2 separate regions of the Homo sapiens genome follow, and region 2 is linked to region 1. Evidence: promoter capture Hi-C in human tissues and cell types (Jung and others, 2019). All regions are on one chromosome and are shown on one strand. The core of a region is centred on a gene start or on the middle of the fragment in contact, and the rest is flanking DNA. Distances in the headings are between cores, read along the strand shown.

Region 1 (4,787 bases), core at 1,385-3,884:
AACCTAGGGCCCCTGGTTTCAAATTAAGTCCTCAATTAGCCCTTTGATGAATCAGAGACACACAAGAATATTCTATACATCTTTTTTTTTTTCCTCCTAGATTGAGTGGGTAAATAAATCAGGAGGAAGTTAGGGAAGGGGGCAATTAATGGCTGGTGCTATTGCAAGCTAGTGGTGGTAGGTTTGACTTCTGGGGAGTGGATTGTTAGTTATCAAGGCAAGAGGAGCCACTGGTCACCCTCCCCCGCATTCCTGTCTGTAGCCTAGGTCCCACAGTTTGGGAACCTCCTTAAGGGATGGCTGTCACACTTCCAGCAGTGGGAACCGGGTGCATAGGCCTGTTCTTGCTTCTCTTTCCTTAGCGCCCCTTCCACTTATGATGCCCACAGACCCACCCTTGGGCAGATTTCTGTGGAAGCCTCTCACTTGGGGATAAAGCCTGTCTATATGTAGAGGTGACTGTGGTCCCTCAAGGCAGGCAGCTGCAAAAATCTCAAAGGACAGAGAAGATGGTTGTAGAAGCAGTACCATGGGACCCTTCAATGGCTCTGTGGGCTGATTTCCAAGCTCCACCCCTCTCCCCTTGGTCACAGGGCCACCTGACTTCCCTTTGGTTCTTCGAGGTTATACAACATCCCCACCTGCCAAACCTCATACCAAACTCCTTCCTATGTTTAGGGCTTTATTTGGCCCCCTCCTCTAAGGCTTTCTCTGGCCTTCCCTTCCTCTCCAGGGTAGTTGCATGCTATGTGTGCCTCTGGTAATCTTTTTTTTTTCATGGCTTTTTTTTTTTTTTTTTTTTGACAGAGTCTCCCTCTGTCGCCCAGGCTGGAGTGCAGTGGTGCCATCCTGGCTCACTGCAACCTCTGCCTCCTGGGTTCAAGCCATTCTCCTGCCTCAGCCTCCTGAATAATCTGGGACTACAGGCATGCACCATCACACCCAGCTAATTTTTGTATTTTTAGTAGAGATGGGATTTTACCACATTGGCCAGGCTGGTCTCGAATGCCTGACCTCAAGTGATCCCCCCGCCTCGGCCTCCCAAAGTGCTGGGATTACAGGTGTGAGCCACCGTGCCCGGTCATTTCTTGCATGGCTTTGCCACACTTTGAAACTGCACATTTTGATTTCTTATCATGGGTGTTTTTTTAAAAAAAATTGAAATTGCACATTTATATGTTCCCATGTTGGGTCCCCCTCATTACGTATTCAGCCAGTAAGGGCAGGATATTTGTGTCCGCTTTCCCAGGGTCCAGCACATGACCTAGCTTGATCAGTACATATTATTGAGCCTCGACAAATATGAGATTGGGCTCAAGAAATATTTATTGGGCTCAGTGAGTATTATTGAATGAATGAATATGGCCTTTCCGGAGCCTTTCCCCAAGGTCCAACACAATTGCCGAATTAATGCAGCCGAGGACACAGCATCCAGTTCCTACTCCTGCAGCCCAGTTACCCCCATCCAACACCACCCCCCTACCCAACCCCCGCTGAAAAGCGGACCTGTGTTCAGAACCTGCCTTCATACTTTTCAGCCATGCTCTTTGGAATAATGAAAGATACGAAGAAGTCAGTGGGAAGATAGACATGGGGAGGGGGACATAGAGGGTGCCTTTGCGTTTTGCTACCCAGGACCCAGGACTCAAGGGCAGGGTGGTCTTGGCCTGGGGTCGCCGTCCTCTTTAAGGGGCGGGTCAAGGGACCCTGGCTGCCCGGGCCTCTGCCACCGACCCTCTGCTCCCTCCGACCCTCACCGCCCAGCACCCAGCCCTCTGCCCCCACCGGCCACCCTGTAACAGCCCAGCGGGTTCACCTTGCCTGCTGCCTAGACAGAGCCGATTTATCAAGACAGGGGCATTGCAATAGAGAAGGAGTAATTCACACAGATCAGGCTGCGCGGGACACTGGGCAGAGTTTTTAAGGACAACTTGGTGGGTGGGGGAAGGCCAGTGAGTCGAGAGTGCTGATTGGTTGGGTCGGAGGTGAAATCTTAGGGAACTGAAGCTGTCCTCTTGTGCTGAGTTAGTTCCGGAGTGGGGGCCTAAGATCAGATGACCTGGTTTATCGATCTGGTAGGTGTCAGTTGATCCATCAAGTGCAGGGTCTGCAAAATATCTTGAGCACTGATCTTATTAGCAGTTTAGGGAGGGTCAGAATACTGTAGCCTTGCTGCCTGACTCCTAAATCATACTTTCTAATCTTTTGGTTAATTTGTTAGTCCTACAAAGACAGTCTATTCCCCAGGCAAGAAGGAGGTTTGTTTTCAGAAAGGGCTGTTATCATCTTTGTTTTAAACTATAAAGTATAAACTAAGTTCCTCCCAAAGTTAGTTCAGCCAACGCCCAGGAATGAACAAGGACAGCTTGGAGGTTAGAAGCAAGATGGAGTTGGTTAGGTCAGATCTCTTTCATTATCTGTTATAATTTTGCAATGGCGGTTTCAACCTAGTGGCCGAACCCGTCCCATCCATCTCCCGCGCCCCTCCGCTCCACCACAGCCCTCGGTGCCTCGGTTCCCTGCACCTGCACTCCCGCCCGCCCCCGACGCTCCGCCCCCGACGCTCCGCCCGCCCTCCACGCTCCGCCCCGCCCTCCCGGCCCCCGCCTGCGCCCGCGCCCTGGGCTGGTGCCCGCCACCCCAGCGATCTCATACTGGCCCCTGGGCGCACGGTGACCCTGCGGCTGCCCGGCCCCTGCCTCCGCCCGCGCGGCCCCCTCGCTCAGGTCGCGGGCGCCCGGGGCCTGGCTTCGCGTGGGTCCTGGCTCCTCCCGTTCCGCAGTTGGTGCCGTCTGACAGCCCCTTCCGCGCGGCGCGGCGCGGCGCGGCGGGTGTCGGGCGGGGCGCGGGCCTCCGGCCTGAGGCCCGGCGAGGTGCTGGAGGGAGCGGGGCGCGGATCCGGCCCAGATGGGCAGCTCCGTCCGCGGGGTCAGGGCCGGGCTTCGGCTTCACCGCAGCCTCGCCTGAGCGGGCGCCTCTGAAGTGGAGGGCGGGCCGCCTGGGCCGCGGGCCTCGGGAGGATGGTGGCGCCCTGGCGCGTCTCCGTCAGGGTTTGCCTGTCGCACCTGAGGTGCTTCGAGCTCAGACAGGGACTCAGCCTCCTGAGGCCCTCCGAGTGCCCTCGCGATGCCAGGCTCTGCTGGCTTCTGCTGGGCACTTTGCCCAAGGTCGTCTCCCTGTGCGGGGACGTGGGTGAGGGGGCCCCTGACGTTCTGAGTCGGCGAAGGGTCCGCTGCAGCGGGGCGGCTGGCGCGGGGCCCGCGGAGAGCCTCCCCCGAGCGGGACCTCTGGGCGGCGTCTTCCTGCATCTCCGCCTCTGGCTTCGCGCCGGCGCTCTGTTGGTGAAATTCTTCCCCCTCCTACTCCTCTACCCCCTCACCTACCTGGCTCCCAGCGTCTCCACCCTCTGGCTCCACCTGCTTCTGAAAGCCACCGAGACCTCAGGCCCAACCTACATCAAACTGGGCCAGTGGGCCAGCACCCGGCGCGATCTGTTTTCGGAGGCTTTCTGTGCCCAATTTTCCAAGCTGCATGTCCGAGTGACGCCCCACCCGTGGACTCACACTGAGCGCTTCCTTCGGCAGGCTTTTGGGGATGACTGGGGGAGCATCCTCTCTTTTGAGAACCGGGAACCTGTGGGCTCAGGCTGCGTGGCCCAGGTGTACAAAGCATACGCCAACACTGCCTTCCTGGAGACTGACAGCGTCCAGAGACTTGGCAGGGCCTCCTGTCTGCCGCCCTTCTCACATACTGGGGCAGTCGGTGGGCTGAGAGAGCTCTTTGGATACCTTGGAAATGGCCGGAAACCTCCAGAAAATCTCGCAGACCAGTCGTTTCTAGAAAGGCTGCTCCTCCCTAAAGCTGACCTGGTTGGATCAAATGCAGGGGTGTCTCGGGCTCAGGTCCCTGGCCACCAACCTGAGGCCACCAACCTCATCTCCGTGGCAGTGAAAGTAAGTGTTGTGAGAGCTCACAGCTCACCTACCCACTGAGCTATCCCAGATCAGAAACAACCGCCATGCAAATCGCCCCCACGTTTATTTCTATTTGCCTGACCAATATCTGAGTGCTTATTTCATGCAAGCTGTTTCATTTATTGGCTTGAAGTGGCGGTGTGAATAGTCTGATAGAGGAAAATGAACTGAGTCTGGAGTGAACTAACTGCTTGGGTGTCGGGACCACATCCTCTTTTCTTTGATAAGAAGCCACCTGGCTCTTGCTTGGATGGTGGGACCCAGCCCTGGCTGGGTAAAATGTGTCCAGCAGGTTTCTCCTGTCTCACGGTTCCTCTTTCTGACAGGTGTTGCACCCTGGCCTGCTCGCTCAGGTGCATATGGACCTGCTGCTGATGAAGATTGGCAGCCGAGTCCTGGGAGTTTTGCCAGGCATCAAGTGGCTTAGCTTGCCTGAGATTGTGGAGGAATTTGAGAAGCTGATGGTCCAACAGGTGAGTTCTCCTCCCCTCAGCTGTAAATAGCACCTAACATAGTTCTTGCCATTAGCTGCTACTTAGTAAATGTTGAATGAATAATTTTCTGGTATGTCATAACTCATGTGATGTGTTAGAGCTGGTAACACTAGCTGATAAAGAACATCCAAATCTCAGTGGCTTAATGCAACAAATTAATTTTTTGCTTATATCAAAGTTCTGGCCGGGCGTGGTGGCTCATGTGTGTAATCCTAGGACTTTGGGAGGCTCAGGCAGGTGGATCACTTGAGGCCAGGAGTTCGAGATCAGCCTGGCCAACATGGTGTAACCCTGTCTCTACTGAAAATACAAAAATTAG
Region 2 (4,787 bases), core at 1,086-3,585, 1.0 Mb after region 1:
TACCCCTTTCACAAAAATTTATTCAATATGGAAAGTAGCTAGCCTAGGCAACATAGCGAGACCCTGTCTCTACAAAAAATTAAAAAAAAAAATTAGCCAGGCATGGTGGTGTGTGCCTGTCGTGCTAGCTACCTGGGAGGCTGGGGTGGGAGGATCACTTGAGCCCAGGAGTTCAAGGCTACAAGGAGCTGTGCTCACTCCACTGCATCCCAACCCAGGCAAAAGAGTGAGACCCTGTCTCTAAAATAATAATAATTTTTTAAAATATGTAAACCAAAATGTAAAATGCAGAATTATAAAATTTCTAGAAGATAACACAGGAGAAAAATCTGGGTGACTTTGGGTTTAGCAATGAGTTTCTAGATATAATACTAACAGCACAATTCATGAAGGAAAAATGGATATATTGGACTTCATTAAAATTTAAAACTTCTGATCTATGAGAGACACTATTAAGGGAACGAAAAGACAAGCCACAGACTGAGAGAAGATATTTGCAAAACACATATCTGATAAAGGACTGTTATCTAAAATATACGAAGAATTCATAAAACTCAACAATAAGAAAACAATCCAACTTTTTAAAAGGGTAAAAGATCTGAACAGACAACTGATCAAGGAAGATACACAGATGGCAAATGACATGATGTTGACTATTTTTTCATATGCTCATTACGCAATTGCAAATTAAAATAACAATGAGATATCATGACACACATATCAGAATGGCTAACATTCAAAACACCAAATGCTGATGAGGATGTGGGACAGCAGGAATTCATTGCTGGTGGGAATATAAAATGGCACAACCACTTTGAAAGACAGTTTGGCAGTTTTTTACAAAACTAACATGTTATTATCAAATGACCCAGCAACGATGCACCTTTGTATTTATCCAAATGAGCTGAAAACTTACATCCACACAAAACCTGCACACAGATGTTTGCAGCAGCTTTATTCACAATGGCCCAAAACTGGAAAACAACCATGATGTCCTTCATAGGTGAATGGATAAATAAAACGTGAGATATCCATACAAGGAAATACTCTATAGCAATACAGAAAAATGAGCTATCAAGCCATGAAGAGACATGGAGGAACTTTAAATGCATGTAGCTAAATAAGAGAAGCCAGCCTGAAAAGGCTACATACTATATGATTTCAACTATGTGACATTCTGGGAAAGGCAAAATTATAGAGACAATAAAAAGATCAATAGGAAGGGAGGGATGAATAGGTCAAGCATAGGATCTTTAGGGCAGTGAAACTATTCTGTATGATACTGTTATGGTGGATACATAACATCGTGCATGTTTCAAAACCCATTGAACTGTACAACAGTGAACCTTAATGCAAACTATGGATTTAAATAAACAATAATGTATCAATATTAGTTCATCAATTATAACAAATATACCACACTAATGAAAGATGTTAATAAAGGGAAATTATATGTGTATGAGTGAGGGGGAGGTAGTATATGGGAACTCTGTACTTTCTGCTCAATTTTTCTGTAAAACTAAAATTGCTCTAAAAAATAAAATACATTAATTATTTAAAAAAACCTAATTGATGAATTAACCTAAATTAACTGCCCTAAGAGTGGCAATGATACTATGGTGATGTAGAAAAATAGCCTTATTCTTAGGAGATTTATACTGAAGTATTTTATTTTATTTTATTAAGAGACAGGATTGCCCAGGCTGGAGTGCAGTGGCCCAATCATAGCTCACTATAACCTCTAACTCCAGGGCTCAAATGATCCGCCCATCTCAACCTCCCAAACAGCTGGGACTACAGGTATGCGCCACCATGCCGGGCTAATTTTTTAAATTTTTATAGAGATGAGGTCTCGCCATGTTGCCCAGGCTGGTCTTGAACTCCTGGCCTCAAGAAATCCTTCCACCTCTGTCTTCCAAAGTGTTGGTATTACAGGCGTTAGTATATGTATTCACGCCCAGCCCATACTGAAAAATTTAGAAATGAAATGCCATGACATCCACAACTTACTTTCAAATAGTTCAGCAAAAAAAAGAAAAGTCTATTTATATCTCCACACACAGTCAGTTCTGCTATAATGCTTGTTGAATCTGTTCCAAAGCAATCAATGTATTAGGGAATTTGACATTTGCTTATGTGTGATTTCAATCATGAAAAACACAAAGTCAATGTGGAAAACTACACCCAGCTGAATCAAGCCATGTCGGAATATACAAAACACACCCACCTTAAGCTTCTCCTGCTACCTCAGGTCACCTCGTTCTGGGCCATGCCATGCACCTCTAGCGTCACAGTTTTGCCTCTGATTTCAGACAGCCCCCCTCCCACCACACATAGTAATTCACAGGCTCAATCCTTTCAGCACTCACCTCCAGATACAAACACCAGGTCTTTTAAAGGTACAGTTCCACATTTACTAAGTATGTATTTCTTAACCATTTATCATATGCAAAACTGTCCTATAGTTTTTGGTAGGTTCCTATCTTTTTTTTAAAAAAAATGTGCCACTGACAAAGTTTTTCTCATAAGCCCTGTGATTTTTACTTCATGATTTTTTTTTGCCGCACAGTGATTTTTGGAACATATATTTCATGTTATAGGGGATATGACTATGTAAGAATAAAGCAAATGGGGCAAAATGTCAATAAACGGGGACTCTAAGTGAAAGACATACAGGTTTTCACTGCACTATTCTTTCAACTTTTCAAAACATTTCAACTTACAAATTGGGGAAAATAATTGAAATAATAGCAATGTGAAAAAAAGGAGAGCATAAAGGACTTTGCAAAAGCCAAAAATAATTGAGGCAATGCACCACACTAATAGGGAATGAAGCGCTATCAGGGCTTGAAGTTATCCTACAGAAACATTACAAATGAAAACCAGCTTACATATGGAATTTGAGGAGACTTAATGGAAAGTGATTTTGCATAATTAGTAATCCTTATGGGATGCCATTTAATACCAGAAAGAAACTCATCCTGACTGCTACTTATCCCAGGCTCAGTCTTCACATTCCATGCTTTTAGGTTTTCCAGATATCCTCACTGTATTAAGAACTCAGCCAGGGAGCTGGGGCCTGGAAGATTCAACAAAAGAGGTCATCTCATGGCTAGTCCATCAAAGAGAGGAGGTGCCAGTGACAAGTGCCTTTTTCTCCCCTAACTTGCTCTCTTTCCATCTCTGTGTCCTTTCTCATCTTGGACCATGACTTGGACCTATTACAGGTACTTACAGGCACTTCCTAGCCTCTACTGCAAAGACAACTTCTGAGGAGGGATTCACATGACCACGGGAGGCACAAATGTGGCAATATGCATTGTGTACATTCAGCTGGTCATTGAACAAATATTGGTGGAGCACAACTTGGCAGCACGGTGCCTGCCAGGTGCTGAGCTCATGCAAAGGCAAATATGTCTCTGTTTAAAGGAACTTGGACTAACCGACTACGAGGCTGGCAGCTCAGTTACCCAGGCAAAGCCAGAAGGTCAGTGTCGCGCCTGGCTGAGGATGTACAGATGGTCTGAACCCTGCCACTTCACAGCTCCAAAGGTCAGCCTGACAGCTCTGTGCACCAGGGCCTCCCAGAGCTGGGGTTTTATAAGCCCATGGGCTAGGCCAGAGGTAGGCTGTCCTATCTAGGTTGACCACTGCCTCTGTCTTCCAAAACTAGTTCTGTTTAAATGAGAAATGACCAAACCCCCAGCTGTCTTAAAATTCATCACTATTTCCTAGGGAGATTGGACATTAACTGCAGTAACTGCTGTCTGCTAGAAAGTTCACCTCAAAATATTTAAAATAGAGAAAGCAATGATCTTGAACCAAAACAATCTCTTTTTAATAGGAAATATGTGAATTTCTTCTTCCTCCTCTGTTAGATGGTTCCCAAGCAAGCACTTCCTCCTGAGCTCTTCATTTCCTATCCAGAGACTGCCTCAGCTGGAGATCCTCTTCCAGCTCCTCTGACCTCAGGAGTGGAACTCCCACCCCAGCACGTGCCTGAGGTTTTACTCTTTCCACGGTTCTCTTCCCATCTGTGTATACATATGCCCTGATTGTAATCAGGAAGTCAAAACAAATCCTGTTTCAGGAATAAAGGCATGAATCAAAGAGTATTCTAGGTCCCAACAATACATTCCCTTCACATAACCACCTAAAGGGGCCATCAGATCCCACAGGTGGAAACCTCCAAAGAGTATTTGGTTCAGACCCTAACATCAGAAAAGTAAATAACCCAGGTGAGTTGACTTTGGGTCTTACATGGTTTGAAACAGTCTTAAAACCACCTAGTCTGAGAGCACATCCAAAGCAAAGAGAAAAGCATCAGGATAAAGAATCCTGAGTCAGGAAGAAGCTAATCCTGCTGATTTAAAGTCAGCTATATGCCAATCCATGGCTGAATTCCAATGCATTCACTTTACAAAGAAAGACCTTCCATTTCACAGATCCCATATCATTCTCCACTGGGTGGTAGTGTGGTGTGGATAAGGGGTGCAGGTAGACTTGGGCTCTGGCCCTAACTTTAGACAACTTAATGGCTCTGTGCACCTGTTTTTCTCATGATGATGGTGTAGTCTGTTGGGAGGATCAGAGGCAGGTCACTGAAACATGTGGCACAGTCCTTGGCACACAGCAGGCACTCAGGAGGTGGTGGGTATTACAATTACCATTTTTATTTTCCCCTCCTCAATTTTCAAGAGAAGAAACTGACTTCACAGCAGATGGCTACAAACTGATTTCTCCCTGAAAACCACAAGCAGGTGAATCACCAACAGCCTGGGAAAGAT

What was found. The method cuts DNA at HindIII sites, captures the fragments that hold promoters and counts their contacts. A contact is called where the count stands out against the background at its distance.
Region 2: a fragment that was not itself captured here is called in contact with the fragment with the promoter of ADCK2 in region 1 in 1 of the 25 tissues and cell types used here (dorsolateral prefrontal cortex).

What each region holds. Positions count from the first base shown.
Region 1 is chr7:140,670,311-140,675,097 of GRCh38, forward strand. It overlaps ADCK2 (aarF domain containing kinase 2), which reads left to right and starts at 2,635. Exons shown (of 8, transcript NM_052853.4): 1 at 2,635-3,953; 2 at 4,301-4,447. The coding sequence starts at 3,021. RefSeq lists a silencer at 2,570-3,029. The HindIII fragment of the contact is 30,105 bases long and covers 1-4,787 here.
Region 2 is chr7:141,692,604-141,697,390 of GRCh38, forward strand. All of the region lies in intron 1 of DENND11 (DENN domain containing 11), which reads right to left. Among named protein-coding and RNA genes, the nearest start is that of DENND11, 7.2 kb to the right of the region's middle. The HindIII fragment of the contact is 6,875 bases long and covers 1-4,787 here.